Linked DNA regions of Homo sapiens: all the other regions are linked to region 5. Evidence: promoter capture Hi-C in 16 types of primary human blood cells and fetal thymus (Javierre and others, 2016). All regions are on one chromosome and are shown on one strand. Each heading gives the region's core, a stretch centred on a gene start or on the middle of the fragment in contact. The rest is flanking DNA. Distances are from core to core; before and after follow the strand shown. Region 1 holds the start of ELAC1 (elaC ribonuclease Z 1). Region 2 overlaps LOC107985152 (a long non-coding RNA gene). Region 3 has its middle 39 kb from the start of MEX3C. Region 4 has its middle 5.2 kb from the start of ME2. Region 5 holds the start of POLI (DNA polymerase iota). Region 6 overlaps SMAD4 (SMAD family member 4).

What was found. Contacts are between HindIII fragments. The CHiCAGO score rates a contact against its expected background, and 5 or more counts as called.
Region 1: the fragment with the promoter of ELAC1 here is called in contact with the fragment with the promoter of POLI in region 5 in 1 of 17 cell types (non-activated CD4 T cells); the score reaches 7.3 in non-activated CD4 T cells.
Region 2: a fragment that was not itself captured here is called in contact with the fragment with the promoter of POLI in region 5 in 2 of 17 cell types (non-activated CD4 T cells and activated CD4 T cells); the score reaches 10.7 in non-activated CD4 T cells.
Region 3: a contact is called between a fragment that was not itself captured here and the fragment with the promoter of POLI in region 5, in 1 of 17 cell types (non-activated CD4 T cells). The highest score is 6.0, in non-activated CD4 T cells.
Region 4: a contact is called between a fragment that was not itself captured here and the fragment with the promoter of POLI in region 5, in 1 of 17 cell types (naive CD8 T cells). The highest score is 5.9, in naive CD8 T cells.
Region 6: a fragment that was not itself captured here is called in contact with the fragment with the promoter of POLI in region 5 in 3 of 17 cell types (total CD4 T cells, total CD8 T cells and naive CD8 T cells); the score reaches 8.9 in total CD4 T cells.

What each region holds. Positions count from the first base shown.
Region 1 is chr18:50,966,687-50,969,386 of GRCh38, reverse strand. It overlaps ELAC1 (elaC ribonuclease Z 1), which reads right to left and starts at 1,347. Exons shown (of 4, transcript NM_018696.3): 1 at 1,273-1,347. RefSeq lists a silencer at 1,020-1,509 and an enhancer at 1,660-1,719. The HindIII fragment of the contact is 7,484 bases long and covers 1-2,700 here.
Region 2 is chr18:51,022,919-51,025,695 of GRCh38, reverse strand. All of the region lies in intron 1 of LOC107985152 (a long non-coding RNA gene), which reads left to right. Among named protein-coding and RNA genes, the nearest start is that of SMAD4, 5.9 kb to the left of the region's middle. The HindIII fragment of the contact is 2,488 bases long and covers 16-2,503 here.
Region 3 is chr18:51,157,400-51,160,099 of GRCh38, reverse strand. It overlaps the pseudogene SRSF10P1. Among named protein-coding and RNA genes, the nearest start is that of MEX3C, 39 kb to the left of the region's middle. The HindIII fragment of the contact is 6,310 bases long and covers 1-2,700 here.
Region 4 is chr18:50,872,538-50,875,237 of GRCh38, reverse strand. No RefSeq gene overlaps it. Among named protein-coding and RNA genes, the nearest start is that of ME2, 5.2 kb to the left of the region's middle. The HindIII fragment of the contact is 2,517 bases long and covers 87-2,603 here.
Region 5 is chr18:54,268,094-54,270,793 of GRCh38, reverse strand. It overlaps POLI (DNA polymerase iota), which reads right to left and starts at 1,277. Exons shown (of 10, transcript NM_007195.3): 1 at 1,133-1,277. The coding sequence starts at 1,247. LOC124904307 (a long non-coding RNA gene) reads left to right here and starts at 889. Exons shown (of 2, transcript XR_007066379.1): 1 at 889-968. RefSeq lists enhancers at 796-845, 1,376-1,505, 1,766-1,915 and a silencer at 916-1,165. The HindIII fragment of the contact is 5,901 bases long and covers 1-2,700 here.
Region 6 is chr18:51,041,102-51,043,801 of GRCh38, reverse strand. The region is part of intron 1 of SMAD4 (SMAD family member 4); the gene reads right to left. Among named protein-coding and RNA genes, the nearest start is that of SMAD4, 12 kb to the right of the region's middle. The HindIII fragment of the contact is 1,251 bases long and covers 727-1,977 here.

The DNA of each region.
Region 1 (2,700 bases), core at 98-2,597, 3.3 Mb after region 5:
ACCTGACCTGAACAAGTCTGCAGGTCTAAATACCTGCTTATTAAAGGATACCAGAGATGGAAAAAGCAAAATCCTGGTTGTAGAAAACGTGAACCGTACAAATGACTTGTTCAAGTAAAATACAGGGAACAAAATAAAGAGCAAGAGAAAAAGATTAAGAGAGATCTAAGAGACATCAACCAAATATAACGTGTGTAGATTGTTTGGATACTGATTTGGACAAACTGGGTAAGAGGAAAGAGACAACTAGGAAAATGTAAATGCTGACTGGATAGTAGAGGGTAAAATGAAGTGCTAAGTACACTGATAATGGCTTTATGTTTTAAAAAGGTGTTATTGTGTTTTATAAACATGAACAAGGTAACAGATGGAATGGTACATTTCAGATTTGCTTCAAAATACTACAGTGGGGGAGAGGGTAACAGATGAAACAGAATTGATCATGAATTGGGAGTTCAGTTACTATTCAATTTTCATATATGACTTGAAGGTTTCCATAATAATTTTAAAACAAATATAATGAAAACCCTCCAAATAGGTCGGGAAGTAATCAGAAATTATTTAATCAATGGTGCATGTTTTGGGACATGCACCATTCTAGGCACTAGGAATTAAATGCGAGCAAACCAGATTAGGTCCCTGTCTTCTTGGAAAAAAAACAAAACAAAAACCCAGCTGCTTGCTTTCTCAAGACTGTGATCCACGTTCGGCGAAGTGCATATTCCAGTCGTGATCACAGTACTGTCATTTCACTCTGGGCCCGTGGATCTCGGTCCTGGCCGCAGATCACAATTCCCCGGTGATGATGGGGCATCAGCATTTGGAGGCTTCCCAAGCGATTCTACTGGTTGCCGGGTTGAGAACCGGCGCTCCTTCGTTTTCAGGCAGGCAGTGTCAACCCTGCAATCACCCTGTGGTGTGCCTAGGGCAGATATCGCTGTCCTCCATCTTAGAGCTGAAAGAACCGAGGCCGGGCGGCAGAGAGTAAGAGGCCAAGGCACAGGCAGGGCCAGAGGCCAGATTTCCGGCCTCCAGAGAGCCCAGGCTCCCCCACGAGACCGTGTTGGCCTCGAAAAAGGCTGGGTGGGCGGCGGCGCCGGGCGGCCGAGGCTCCGGCCCGCCGAGACTCCGGCCCGGGGCGGTGAACGAGGCGCGTCCTCGCTCCCGGGCGCTCCCCAGGCTTAGGTCCCCAGCGCCGGGCCGTGCCTGATCGAGCCGGCGAGTCCCGAGGAAGCGCGCCCGCCCCCCTCTGGTATGCCCTACCGCACTCACCCTCTCCCCGAGGCCCGCGCCAGGAGCCGAGGGAGGCGCAGGCCCGCACCCTGGCCCAGCTGTCCGCGGGGCTACAATGCGCCCGGGCGGAAGTGCGCCGCCGGCCGGGTCCCGCGCGGCCGCTCTAGGATGCGAGGGAGGTCCGCGCTCGGTGGCGCCCGCGCGGGACCTGGCTCTGGGCGCGCTTCCGGGCTCCCCCCGGGCCGCGAGGGCAGTGATTGAGTTTCCCTCTTTCCCAGGTCGCTGTGTGTCAGGTGGTAGCTATCGCCCTGAGGACCAGAGCGGGATAAACCAAAAGGGAAAAAGTTACTCTTCTTTTGTTTTCCGTGTAATATTTTCCACATAAGAGTGTTCTTCCTGATGTTTTGCTCATACATATGTGTCATTTTTGGTCTTTGGTTGGGATGAATCTTTACTGTCTTTCATCCACTAAGATCCTTTGCCTGACCATGCACCTTCATAAAGCCCCGTCCATATTCCATTTTCCTACTCTAGGTTGGAATATTTGCTTAACATCTGAAGCTGATTGTGCCATACTCACTCCAAGCCTTGGTGTTCTCTTAGGTAGCGGACGTGGGATTGAAAAACCCAGGCTGGCTGTATACAGAACGGGCACGTGGCGATTACAGACCACAGGGAAAAACTCCTTCAGTTTGAATAACAACTTTTAAAAAAAGTATTTCAAGCTCCTGTGTACTGCCAGATGCACTGATTTCGTGCTCAGCGTACTTGAGGTGGTCAAAATATCCAGCAGCTGGCCGGGCGCCGTGGCTCACACCTGTAATCCCATCACTTTGGGAGGCCAAGACGAGCGGATTGCCTGAGCTCAGGAGTTCGAGACCAACCTGGCCAACATGGCAAACCTCGTCTCTACTAAAAATACAAAAAAAAAAAAAAATTAGCCGGTCATGGTGGCACACGCCTGTAGTCCCAGCTACTCGGGAGGCTGAGGCATGAGAATCGCTTGAACCCAGGAGGTGCAGGTTGCGGTGAGCCAAGATCGCACCACTGCATTCCAGCCTGGGCGACAGAGCGAGACTCTGTTAAAAAAAAAAAAAAAAAAAAAAAAAAAAATCCAGCAGCTTCAAAATAGGAATCGGAGTGGTGTTTCTTGAAACTACCAGGACAGAGAGACTGCCACTTGTTTAAAAATCATTAACTCATCTACTTCTACTTATTGGGCTCTTTTAACCTTTATTCCAGTATTAATGGAGCTCTGACTTTGTGGATAGTATTATTTTTGGGGCTGAGAGATTTTAAAAATTTGTCATGGTCCCTGGTTTTGGGTTTTTGTTTGTTTGTTTGTTTGTGACAGGGTCTCACTCTATCACCCAGGTTGGAGCGCAGTGGCGCGATCTCAGCTCACTGCAACCTCTTCCTCCTGGACTCAACCAATCCTCCCACCTCGGCCTCCCAAGTATCAGTAGC
Region 2 (2,777 bases), core at 10-2,509, 3.2 Mb after region 5:
TCATTCTGATAAGCTTACAAGCAGCTGTGATTTTTCCAATCCTACAGATTCTTCTCTTTGACCTATTTCTACTGTCAGCTATCACCTATTTCTCTACTCCCTTTACAACAAAACTTCTAAAAGAGTTTTCTATACTTTGTCTGCAGTTCTTCTCCCATTCTGCAACAGCAGAATACATCCCATACAATACCATTTATACAAAGTTCAAAAACATGTCAAGCATGATACGTATGTTAAGACTCCATACATATGTAGTAGAATCATTACATGCGAGGTACACATGTGGCGTATTTTAGGTCATCAGCTGAGTGTTAGGTTTCCCATCCTCTCTTAAACTCCATTCATGCTTTCATCCTTACTACCGTATCAAAACCACTCTTGTGAAGGCCAACAAGGAACTTCACATTGGCTAAACCCAATGATCTAGTCTCGGTTCTCATCTTATCTGTAACAGCTGACACAGCTCATCACTTGATTCTCTTTTTTTAACCACATCCTCTTGGTTTTCCTCCTTCATTCGTGGTTCCTCCTTCCCTGTCTTCTTTGCTGGGTTCCATCTCTTCTCTCAGACCCCTTAACTGGGGCTTATTCCCTGAACTCTTTATTTTTTTGAGACAGAGTCTCTCTCTGTCACCCAGGCTGGAGTGCAGTGGCATGATCTCGGCTCACTGCAACCTCTGCCTCCCAGATTCAAGCAATTCTCCCTGCCTCAGCCTCCCAGGTAGCTGGGATTACAGGCGCCCACCACCACACCTGGCTAGTTTTTGTATTTTTCCGTAGACAGGGTTTCGCCTTGCTGGCCAGGCTGGTCTTGAACTCCTGACCTCAAGTGATCTGCCTGCGTCAGCCTCCCAAAGGGCTGGGATTACAGGCATGAGCCACTGCACCTGGTCCCTTGAACTCTTTTTAATCTATACTCATTTCCGTGATCTCATCCAGTCTCCTGACTTTCAGTACCATCTAAGATATATAATATCATCATATATGATGACAACTCTTAAATTTATATCTCCAGCTCGGATCTCTTACCTGAACTCCAGATTCTGATATCCTCAAACATGTCACAAACTGAGCAATATTCTCCCTCAAACCTGTTGAACCCACTAGCTTTCCAATCTCATTTGATAACTCTATTGTTCAAGTTGTTCAGACCAAAAACCCTGAGCAGTTTCACTTTAATTTCATCACCATGAACCTCAAGTAAATCCTTAGTGCTGTCCAGCAATTCTGGATTCCCCTCGTTTTCTCACACCCATGTCTAATCCACAGAGCATCCCTAACCACCTCCACTGCTGCTCCCTGGTCTGAGCCACCATCATCTCATCTTTGGATTCATCTTCTAAAAGCTCTCCCTGTTCTCATGCTTGCCTCTTCCCAACATAATAGCTAGAGAGATCCTTTTAAAATAGAAGTCAGGGCCAGGCACAGTGGCTCACGCCTATAATCCCAGCACTTTGGGAGGCCAAGGCGGGCAGATCACGAGGTCAGGAGATTGAGACCATCCTGGCTAACCCGGTGAAACCCTGTCTCTACTAAAAATTACAAAAAAATTAGCCGGGCGTGGTGGCGGGCGCCTGTAGTCCCAGCTACTCGGGAGGCTGAGGCAGGAAAATGGCGTGAACCCAGGAGGCGGAGCTTACAGTGAGTGGAGATCGCGCCACTGCACTCCAGCCTGGGTGACAGAGCAAGACTCCGTCTCAAAAAAAAAAAAAAAAAAGTCAGACATCTGCACTCTGCTTAAATCCCTGCATTAAATGATCCTCATTTCATTTAGAGTAAAAATCTACATCCTTACAATAGTCTAAAGGGTTCTATAAGATCAGCATCACCACTCCACCCTGAGCATTACTTCTCTAATCTCATTTCCTATCAGTCATTCTCCAATATGTCCTAACCTTCCCGACCTCTTTTCTTGTCCCTAGAAGATGCCAGCCATGCTCCCAAGTTAGGGCCTCTGCACTGGCTGTGCCCTCTGCCTTGTACATGTTTCCCCCAGATATCTGCATTGCCAACTCTCTCACCTCCTTTGGTCAAAAGTTACCTCATTGAAGCCTATCTTGACCTTTTAAAAATCACAGCCCATTCTTAACTCTCACAGTACACCCAAAGCCCCTTTACCCTGCTTTCTGTTTTACTATAGCACTTCTGACATACTATATGATTTACTTATGTGTTGTGTTTATTGTTTATTGCCTATTACCCCCCGCTAGAATGTAAGCTCCATGAGGGCAAGGATTTATCTGTAGTGTTTACCAGTGTATCCCAAGTGCCTAGAGTAGCTATTGACACGTAGGAGGTGCTCAATAAATATTTGTTGAATGAATGAACAAGGTGTTTGTGCTTCTATCCATAGAAGTGAAAACTAGGATTAGGTTTGACCCAATTCTATTTCATTCAGCAAAAATATCCTTTAATTTTAATAGATACCAAAATATGTAATATTTTATGTTGTTTAGATCAATTAGATATTAAAATTATACAATCAAAATGAGCTTTTTAAGCTTATCAGACTCAGTCAAGAATTTTTTTAAAAAAATTTTTTTGTAGGGAAATATGATAGGTTGATCAATAAAAGACTCTCCAGCTTAAAATATTATATTAAAATATTGAGGGGTAAGTGGAATGGAAATACAAGATAAGAAAAAAAAAGTGATGTAAAATTTACTTTAAAGAAAAGCTTGTTCATATATTTTTTAAATGGTTGATAGATGCATTATGATCTTTAAATTTCCTTGGATACGTTTAAAGAATGATGTAACAATCTTATTTTAAAATGC
Region 3 (2,700 bases), core at 174-2,673, 3.1 Mb after region 5:
GCCACAGCTTCCTCCTTCTTCCTTTACGCAGCAGCCTCCCACTCCCCAGCTCCTGCTACCAGCTCCTCCATGCTTACATGCCCACAACCCGTGCTGAGCCCAGCAGACAAGAGCCTTCAGCTACCAAGACCCACCCTTCTTAGAAGGCAGGAAGAGAATTAGAAATAATAAGGTCTTTTTCTTGAGATTTGAAGTCAAAAGCTAGCTAGCGGCTGCATAGGGAATCCAGCTCAGCTCTCTCTGACATCAGAGCCTGAGGCTTCCAAGCCTGTGCCCTCGGCAGTGAGGCTGGTAGGTGGGATCACAAACCCCTCCTCCTCCCCGTCCCTGCCCTCTGCATCCCTGCTCGCCGCTCGCTAACACTGCTTCTAGTTTCTAGAGGCAGTTGCAGAGCCAAGTTTAAGGCTAAGGAGTCCAAAGGAGTCCGGCACTGAGGGTGAATTTCAGGCATGTGGCAGGCTGTGGGGAGAGATCATCAGTCTTCAGGTGACAGCCTTGTCTCCACCTGTGAGCAAGGTTGACAAGGGCAGAGGTAGCCTCACTGCCTTCAGCTTGTCTTCATTCAGGCTGTGGTCATTTCTATAGACTAGTGGTACCCAGACCATCAGCATGATCATCATCTAGGAACTTGTTAGAAATACGAATTTCTAACAGCAGAGCTATGGACAGTTTGCCTGGTCTGTTAGGGCCTCCGGCCTGGACTCACGCCACCATCATGTCCCACTACCTGCACACTCCTCCAAAACATGTCTCTGTCCATCAGGAACGTGGCCAATGACACCAGGTCTGCAGATAGACAGGATAAATTTGGTCATGATGGTCCTACAGGAAATGTTTATGTTCCACTTGATTTCCACACCCACCGTCCAAGAGGATTTGCTTGTGTTCAATTTGAGGATGTTTGTGATGCTGAAGATGCTTTGCATAATTTGGACAGGAAATAGATTTGTGGACATCAAGTTGAAATACAGTTTACACAGGGGGATCAGAAGACACCAAATCAGATGAAATCCAAGGAACAGAGGAATGTGTACAGCTCTTCACGCCATGATGGTTATGACAGATACAGAAGTTCTAGAAGCCAAAGTTATGAAAGGAGATCCAGAAGTCAGTCTTTTGATTACAATTATAGAAGATCTTACAGTCCTAGAAATCAACCAACTGGAAAACCACGGAGTAGCAGAAGCCATTCCGACAATGGTGGATTCAAACACCAAAATCCATCTTTTTCAAGATCTACATCTCATTCAAGGCAGCCCAAGGAAGAAGTGAAGGCTAAATCACATTCTAGGTCTGCATCTCACACCAGAACTAGAGGCACCTCTAAAACAGATTCCATGCTGGGTGCAGTGACTCACACCTTTAATCCCAGCAGTTTGAGAGGCTGAGGCTGGAAGATCACTTGAGCTCAGGAGTTTGAAACCAGCCTGGGCAATATGGCAAAATGCCATCTCTACAAAAAAAAAAAAAAAAAAAAAAAAAAAATTAGCCAGGCATGGTGGTGCATGCCTGTAGTCCCAGCTACTTGGGAGGCTGAGGTGGGAGGATTGCTTGAGACTGGGAGGTCAAGGCTGCAGTGAGCCTTGATTGTGCCACTACACTCCAGCCTGGGTGACAAAGCAAGACCCTGTCTCAAAAAGTAAGTAAAAATAAATAAATAAATAAGATTCCAAAGCATATTAAATAAGTCTGGCTCAAGATATGAAAAGGAATCAAAGAAAAAAAACTACTTATATCCAAATGTCAGTCAAGATCAAAGTCTAGTTCTAGATCAAAATCTACATCAAGGTATTGGACTGCTCCTAAATCCAATGGCCACTGATAATATAAACTATGGTTGTTTTTAGGCACATATCATTCATTTATTTATAGTTTGGTTTACTTAAATTATCAGGAATTGGCCAGGCATGGTGGCTCACCCTATAATCCTAGCACTTTGGGAGGCTGAGGTGGGCAGATCTCTTGAGCCCGGGAGTTTGGGACCAGCTTGGGCAACATGGTGAAACCCCTATCTCTACCAAAAATTAAAATATTAGCTGGGCATGGTGGTGTGCGCCTGTAGTACCAGATACTTGGGGCTGAAACAGGAGTATTGCTTGAGCCAAGGAGATCGAGGCTACAGTGAACCGAGATCACACCACTGCACTCCAGCCTGGGTGACAAAGTTAGACCCTGTCTCAAAAAAAAAAAAAAATCAGGAATACAATGTTGTAACAATACTTTAAAAACACTGTACCAGGCAATGGTAATAATTCAAATGATATGCTGTGGAGAAGCCACTTTTAAGAGTCAGTTTGTAACCCCGTCTCTACTAAACAAAATACAAAAATTAACCAGGTGTGGTGGCGGGCGCCTGTAGTCCCAGCTACTTGGGAGGCTGAGGCAGGAGAATGGCATGAACCCGGGTGGTGGAGCTTGCAGTGAGCCAAGATCGCAGCACCGCACTCCAGACTGGGAGACAGAGTGAGACTCCATCTCAAAAAAAAAAAAGAAGAGTCCAGTTTGTTTAATGTTATAGGTAACCACCAATTTGTGGTGTCCCTGTATATTTTTGTAAAGATTCTTTTTTTTGTGTTTGAAGTTTGTGGCAAAAAGATGTTGGTTGACCATAATTTGCAACATTTTTTTTTAAAAAAAAACAGGCTGTCTTGCTTTGTCACCCAGGCTAGAGTGCAGTGATGCAATCAAAGGTCATTGCAA
Region 4 (2,700 bases), core at 96-2,595, 3.4 Mb after region 5:
ACACTGGCGGATATAACTCCTGGGTTAAATAAAGTAGTCATTACTCTGCAACTGGTTGTGAATTTTCTGCATGATCATCTTAAGCTTTGAAAAATACTGTGCTTTCTTGCATTTACCTTTTATCCCCTATCTGTCCAGCATTCTTGCTTGAATTGAGCTATTTCATCTTTAAATGATACTATTTTGGGCTGAGTGAGGTGGCTCACTCCTGTAATCCCAGCACTCTAGGAGGCCAAGGTGGGTGGATTGCTTGAGCACAGGAGTTTGAGACCAGCCTGGGCAATATGGTGAAACCTCATCTTTACAAAAAAAAAAAAAAAAAATTAGCCAGGCCTGATGGGGCATGCCTGTAGTCTTAGCTACTTGGGAGGCTGAGGTGGGAGGATCACTTGAGCCCAGGAGGCGGAGGTTGCACTGAGCTGAGGTCGCATCCCTGCACTCCAGCCTAGGTGACAGAGTGAGACCCTGTCTCCAAAAAAAAAAAGCTACTTTGATCCAGTAATAGTTATAGTGAGACACTAAGATGTCTCATCAGTTAAAAGACCAAGGGGAATTATATACATCCATAGGTCTCCAGAAATAATGTAAGTGTGTAGTTATTTTTCAAGTATAGAGTTTTTAAAAATGAATGTTAAGGTCTAATATATAGTAGGTCAGGGCACACAGAATCAAAACAGTACTATGATTATCCTTACTACTATTATTACTAATCTACTACTAGTAGTTTATACTTGACATCCTCAATTTGACCTAATAAGAGTTAATGAGCTATTCTAAAGGAGGAAATATAAATGAAGATATTACGACAGGAACAAGATTTTTGTGCATTTTAACAGTAACTGTTAGAAATGATTTTTAGCTCCCAACAACAGAAAACCCAATTAGAGTTGATTTATACAAATATGGGCTTTTTCACAAAAATGTGAGGGTAGGATTTAAGGCTAAACATGGCTCAATCACTTTCTGGATAATCCTTGAGAGAAGGAAAGAATCTCTTCTAAATGCAGGGTCTCTCCAGTAAATGAAGATAAAACCTGACAATTTTTGACTAGAACTATGGCTGAGCAAGAAATATAACTCCAAGCAGAGTATAAGTTATCCATAAATTAGACACCCCAATTATAGATAATCAGGGAATGATAGAAGGAAGGTTGTTTGGATTCCTATGGGGTGGGAGTGGAAGGCATGGAGGGGATGTTTGAAAATTATCTGGACAAATGCCTCAGTTCTTCAAATTTTTTCTTTTTGCTTTTGTTTTATTTTGTTCATTTACTTATTTACATCGAAGGAAAAAGCACACTTTGGGAGTGTGGAATACTTGAATTCTAGGGCTAGCTCTCACACTGTCTTAATAAGAGGCTGGATGTCTTTTTCTCCGGTTAGGTGGACACAATTAAACTTTCCCTATGTATCTCAAAGGGCATTGAAAAGAGGAATGAGACACAAAATATGCAAGAGTTTTGTGAATATTAAAAGGATACAGATGCAAAGTATTCTCATGCAGGCTGTCTGCCTGGCATATAGATGATGTTTGATAAATAATAATTACCATTCATTGAGTACTTACTATTTGCTAAGCGTTGCTCTAAGGCACCTAGTGTATTTTATTTATTTTTACTTTTTTTTTTCTGAGACAGGGTCTTGCTCTATTGCCCAGGCTGGAGTGCAGTGGTATGATCTTGGCTCACTGCAACCTCTGCCTCCCAGGTTCAAGCAATTCTTCTGCCTCATCCTCCTGAGTAGCTGGGATTACAGGTGTGTGACACCACACCTAGCTAATTATTGTAATTTTAGTAGAGACAGGGTTTTGCCATGTTGGCCAGGCTGGTCTTGAACTCCTGACCTCAGGTGATCCACCCTTGGCCTCCCAAAGTGCTAGGATTGCAGGCATGAGCCACTGTACCCCGCCCACCTCATGTATATATTAAAATTATTTAATTATCCTAACAACGCTATCAAGTAGGTATAATTATTTCTGTTTCTTTCTTTATTTTATTTTAGAGATGGGGTTGGGGTCTTGCCATGTTGCCCAGGCTGGTCTTGAACTCCTGAACTCAACGAATCCTCCCATCTTGGCCTCCCAACGTATTGGGATTACTGGCATGAGCCACCGTGCCACTCCTGTTTTTGTCGTTGTTGTTGTTCAAGATAGGGTATTGCTCTGTCACCCACGCTGGAGTGCAGTGCCAATTGTAGCTCATTGCAGCCTTGATCTCCCAGGGTCAAGCAATCCTCCTGCCTCAGCCTCCCAAGTAGCTGGGACTACTGGCATGTACCACCACAACCAGCTAATGTTTTTTATTTTTAGTAGAGACAAGGTCTTGCTATGTTGTTCAGGCTGCTCCTGAACTCTTGATCTCAAGCTATTCTCCCACCTTGACCTCCCAGAGTGCTGAGATTACAGGCATGAGCCACTGTGCCCAGCTGGTAGGTATAATTATTATCCCCATTTTACATATGGGAAAACTGAGGACTTAGAGGTTGATTCATCCAAGGGTACCACTAATAAGTGGAAAGAGGATACAAACTACACTGTACAGACTGAATATTTTAAAATATGTTTATGTACAGTTCAGTGTCTTGGAAAGATTTGAAAGTAAGCTTGGAGCATTATGTCACCCCACTCCCCAACCTGGGAAAGACTTCCCCGCTGTAAGCTGTCAATTAAAAACTGCTTCGTAATTCAAGGACAAATTCTAA
Region 5 (2,700 bases), core at 28-2,527:
TCACTAAATTGAAAGACTGAATAGTTCTTTGATTTTAAAAAGTTGTTAGGTCATTATTTGTCGGGGAGGGAATGACAGAGGCGACTCCTTCTCTCAACACTGGCTAAAAACAAGACAGGCAAAATACAATACAATATTCTGGTTGGGATCCTGGAACAGAAAATGAACGTTAGCAGAAAAACTGGTAGAATATTAATAAAGCGTGTAGTTCAATTAATAGTATTATACCAATGTTAATTTCCTAGTTTTGACAAATGTACTGAGTTTATGTTAACACTAGGGGGATCTAGCTCTGCAACTTTCAGGTAAACCTAAAGTTCCAAAATTTAAAAGGCCAGGCACGATGGCTAACTACTGTAATCCCAATACTTTTCGAAGCTGAGGTGGAAGGATCGCTTGTGGCTGGAGTTTGAGACCAGCCTGGACAACACAGCTACACCTGATCTAAAAAAATCTGAAAATCAGCCAGGTGTGGTGGCACGTGCCTGCTGTCCCAGCTACTCGGGACGGAGAGGCTGGGGCGGAGGATCACTTGAGCCCAGGGGTTCGAGGCTGCAGGGAGACCTTGTCTCTAAATTAATGAATGAAACAAAACCAGCAGGAAATGAGAACCGGTGCCTTTACATCCAGGCCCTGAGGTGGGCGGTACAAGGTAAAGACCAGAGCTGGAAGTGGGTCACCGGAGACGTGACCACAGCGGACCTGACTCCGCCTAGGTTCTGAGCCATCCCTTCCTGCCAGGACTGAGATCCGGGTCCCACCTTCTGCCAAATGAGCGACAAGGTCCTCAACTTCTCCAAAGTTAAAAGGCCCAGAAGCCTCTGCAGTTTTCGTCGGGCTGGCTGAGGGATTCCCGCCCCACCTCGCCCCTCACAGAGGAAAGGACGGCGCAGATAAACCCTCGACACGTATTTGTAGTGTGGACGCGCCCCACCCTACTCCTGCTGGGTGAAGCCATTCCTCTAGAGGTACCCGCCGCGTAACACAAGGCAGAGGGAGGCAGCCCTCTCTTAGAGGAGCCGAGTGGGGCGGGGACGGTCGCGCCCCAGTGGCCGCCGCCCCGAGCGTCCGCCTGCCCCACCCTTCTCATTTACACCCAAGGAGGCCGCTGGCTCCTCTGGCTGCGGCGCACCCTGCGAGCTGGCTGCCGCCCCCACGTCCGCCAGTTCCATGGCCCAGGCCTCGGCGTCTTCCTCGTCGTCGTCGCCGCCGCCTTCCTCCTCCGGCTCCACCCCCAGCTTCTCCATCCCGCCGCTGCCAACCGCAGCGCTACTTCCGGCCGCTTCCGCCTGGTCTCCAGGGAAACCGGGGGACTACAGTCTCCAGTCGCTCTGTGCCTCTCGCCTGCGCAGTCGTGGCCGACCAGCCTGTTGCCCAGAGTGACACGCATGCCAAGGAATCGTGGAGGCCCACGTGCGGGAGTTTTTTCCCGCCGGGTGGAGGCCGGAAGCGGAGAGATTGAAAGCACAAATGGCTATTTTTTTTTTTTTTGAGACGGAGTTTCGTTCTTGTTGCTCAGGCTGGAGTGGGCAACAGTGACGCAATACCGGCTCACTGCAACCTCTGCCTCCCGGATTCAAGCGATTCTCCTGCCTCAGCCTCCCAAGTAGCTGGGATTAACAGGCATGCGCCATCACGCCCAGCTAATTTTTTTGTATTTAGTAGAGACGAGGTTTCACCATGTTGGTCAGGCTGGTTTCGAACTCCTGTCCTCAGGTGATCCACCCTCCTAGGCCTCCCAAAGTGTTGAGATCACAGGCATGAGCCACTGCGCCTGGCCTTTTTTTTTTTTTCTTGAAGGCTTTGGAGTTAGGCCCACATCACAAATTTTAGCGTTTTGTCTTTGTTCCATTCGGCTGTTAGCAAACTTGCAAATCCCTAGACCTGAGTGATTAATGTGATGGGGTGGGAAGGAGTGTAACTGATAGTAAAGACACAGGTGGCCTTGTAAACTCATATGATTAGCAACTATGTTAAGGTTTGCTGTGTTTTGTTTGTTGTTGTTTTATTTAAAGACACTGTGACGAATTCAACCACAGAATTTTTAACATCAAAACTGAATAGGATTTGATACATGAGTGTTGTAGTCAGACAAAATCTCCAATCCAGACCCTCCATCATGCTGTGTGACTTTGGGCAGGTTACATAACTGCTGTGAGCCTCAGTTGCTCTACTCTTAAAAAAAAAAAAAAGTATTGAGATTGAATGAATGGATAAAAGCTACCATATACTGTAATATCCTAATGTATATAAAACATGTGGCACATAGGAAGTGCTCAGTAAATGTCTATTCTCCTTGCCTTCTATTAGGATACCATGTGTGCATGTGTGTGTTGGTGTGTGTATGTGTATGTTTTACAATAGAGGAAATTTGGAAATTCCTCCATGCCTGTATGTATGTATATACACTATATCTGTATAAATACCCAAATTAACACATATGTTTGGTTTTTTATATGATTCTACTTCTTATCAAATAAAATATTAGAACCTTGAGAAACCCTTTAAAGCAGCCATTCCCAACCTTTTTGGCACCAGGGGCTGGTTTCATGGAAGACAATTTTTCCACAGACAGAAGGGAGGGGGATGGTTTTGGGATGATCCAAGTGCGTTACATTTGTTGTGCACTTTATTTCTATTATTATTACATTTTAATAGATAATGAGGTAGAATCAGTGGGAGCCCTGAGCGTGTTTTCCT
Region 6 (2,700 bases), core at 103-2,602, 3.2 Mb after region 5:
GCAATTAAAATGTTTAAGTGTTAACTATTTCACCACAATCTCACCATCAAATGTCATCATTTCTAAAATTTATGCTATGCTGGGGCCTTAACGGTATCTCAAAGTTTGTTTTAATACCAAGTTGCTTTGAATACAAATGATAATGACCTCGCTTTCTTAAACAAACAGCTTTCTCATCTCTCTCTTTATTGTATTCCTATGACCACAAGTGCCTGAAACATAATTAAAAGTTATGCATATAAAAAATAATACTAGCAGGAATAAAGAGATGTATTCCTACATTAAATGGTTCTAGATTATGGAAGTATGGTAGGCAAGAGCATAATATCGATATAAATAAAATTATATATTCTAATTAAAGGTCTAGCCGCATGACTGAATGTTAACATCTCTCTCAATTCTCTCATCTATAAAATGGAAACACCTGCCCTGACAACTTCACAAATTTATTGTGGTAATTAGATGCAACAACGTACATAAAAGAAATGTGGGAAACATAAATTGACCAATTCAACAAACACTGTATATACAAAGCACTACAGATACAAAAACAGGAAGCCCATAGTAAGAAAGTGGGTCTGGACTCTCTCAGACCAACATCCCATTTTTTTTCCAACAAATAATTTATATCACCACCTTAGCTTTACTGAAACAAAATTCTAAACTACTTAAACATATTTTGAAAATTTAACAATGCCCTAACTATAACAAAAAGGAGGAAAAGCTTAATATATAATGTGTACTTCCACCTATAAATACTCAGGCATGCCAACTAAGTTAGAATGTATAATAAAGAAGTTAGATGCTAGCACTTATATACAGAATCATTACAAATGTGACAGCTACAAATTCAGACCTTCCAAGACAAACGTGTTATACTGGCAACTCAAATAGCACAATGGCACTGCAGTCAGTAACATGGATTTTCCCAAATGGTGAACTCTTAAACAACTTGAACTAAGAAAATGAATTAACAAGAGGCTGGGGCAGGAGGACTGCTTGAGCCCAGGAGACCAAGGCTACGGTGAGCTATGACTGAGCCACTGCACTCCAGCCCAAGTGACAGAGTAAGATTTGGTCTCAAAAATAAAAAACAAAACAACCAAGTCCGGGTACAGTGGCTCATGCCTGTAATCCCAGCACTTTAAGAGGCCGACATGGTTGGATCACTTAAGCTCAGGACCAGCCTGGCAACAAAGGCACGGTTGCCAGGACCAGCCTGGCAACAAAGTGAGACCTCCTCTCTACAAAAAATACAAAAAATTAGTGGGGCATGGTGGCACATGCCTATAGTCCCAGCTACTCAGAAGGCTGAGGTGGGAGGACGGCTTGAGCCTGGGAGGCAGAGGTTGCAGTGAGCCAAGATCACGCCACTGCACTCCAGCCTGGGTAACAGAGCCTGAAGTAAGGGAGGGAGGCAGGGAGGGAGGAAGGAAAAAGAAAGAAAACAGAGAGAAAGAGAGAGGGAGAGAGGGAGGGAGGGAGGGAGGGAGGGAGGGAAGGAGGGAGGGAGGCAGGCAGGCAAGAAAAAAATGAATTAAAAGAAATTTAACTCCTGGCAAAGTGAATATATATTATAGAGTTAGGTTCTGGGCTAATTATATTTTCCTCCTACATGAATTTCTGGGGCATCTGAAAGTCTTGTGGGATGCAAGATAATTATTCGCTGTCTCTCACATTGCAGGATGGCATCCCTGGCCACCAATCCACCAAACCCATCCACAAATTTCTACAACATCCCTTAAAGAGCAGTACTTACTCCACTGAGAACTACTAATCTGGAAGACCCAAACATATTATTACATAAGTAATAAATGCTAAAAGAAGTAGGTATAAAGTGATTTGGGACTATAAATGAGGGAGCATGGAAAGTTCATAGGTAACCTAGGTCTTGGCACAACGTATCAGTCAGGATTGGCTAGTCTATGCTGCAGTGACAACCAACCCCCAAAAGATCAGTAGCTTAAAACAAAAGCTTATTTTCTGCTTAGGATATAATACACATTCATCACAGATCAACTGGGGGCACTGCTGTCATCGCTCAGAAATTAGACTGACAAAGGCTCCATTTCTACATATGTCCTTAAATGGCAGGAGAAGGGATAGGACAGCTCATATATCTTCTTTTAAAGGCTACCACTTCTGCTCATGTTTGACTGGCCAAAGTCATAAGGCCATGCCAGGAGTTCTCAACCAGGGGCAACTTTGTCCCTCAGGGGACACTTGGCAACATCTGGAGGCAATATATGGTCACAACTGGATACTACTGGGCATCTGGTGGCTAAAGGCCATGGTTGCTGCTAAATACCCTGCAATGCACTGGACAACACGCAAAATAAATTATCCAGCCTAAAATGTCAACAGTGCCAATGCAAGAAACTCTGGGCCATGCCTAATTTCAAGGTAGGGATGAGGGAGACAAAGAAGCACAATACTACCATGTGCCAGGGGACAGCCATCAGAATATTGGTAGAATAGTATTAATGGATTACCACATACGAATAAGAATTTGCCAGGCTGAAGGAAAATGATGAGGAAAAGCAGAGACGGATAAGAGCTTTGTCTAGAGTAGGTTCATGGTAGAAAGAGGAGAAAAAACAGCATTAGATTTGTATTAGAAAACTTCAGTGAGAGCCTGGAGAACAGCTTTGGAAAAGGAAATAGAAAACCAGTTAGGAAACAATTACCAGAAAAGCGGTA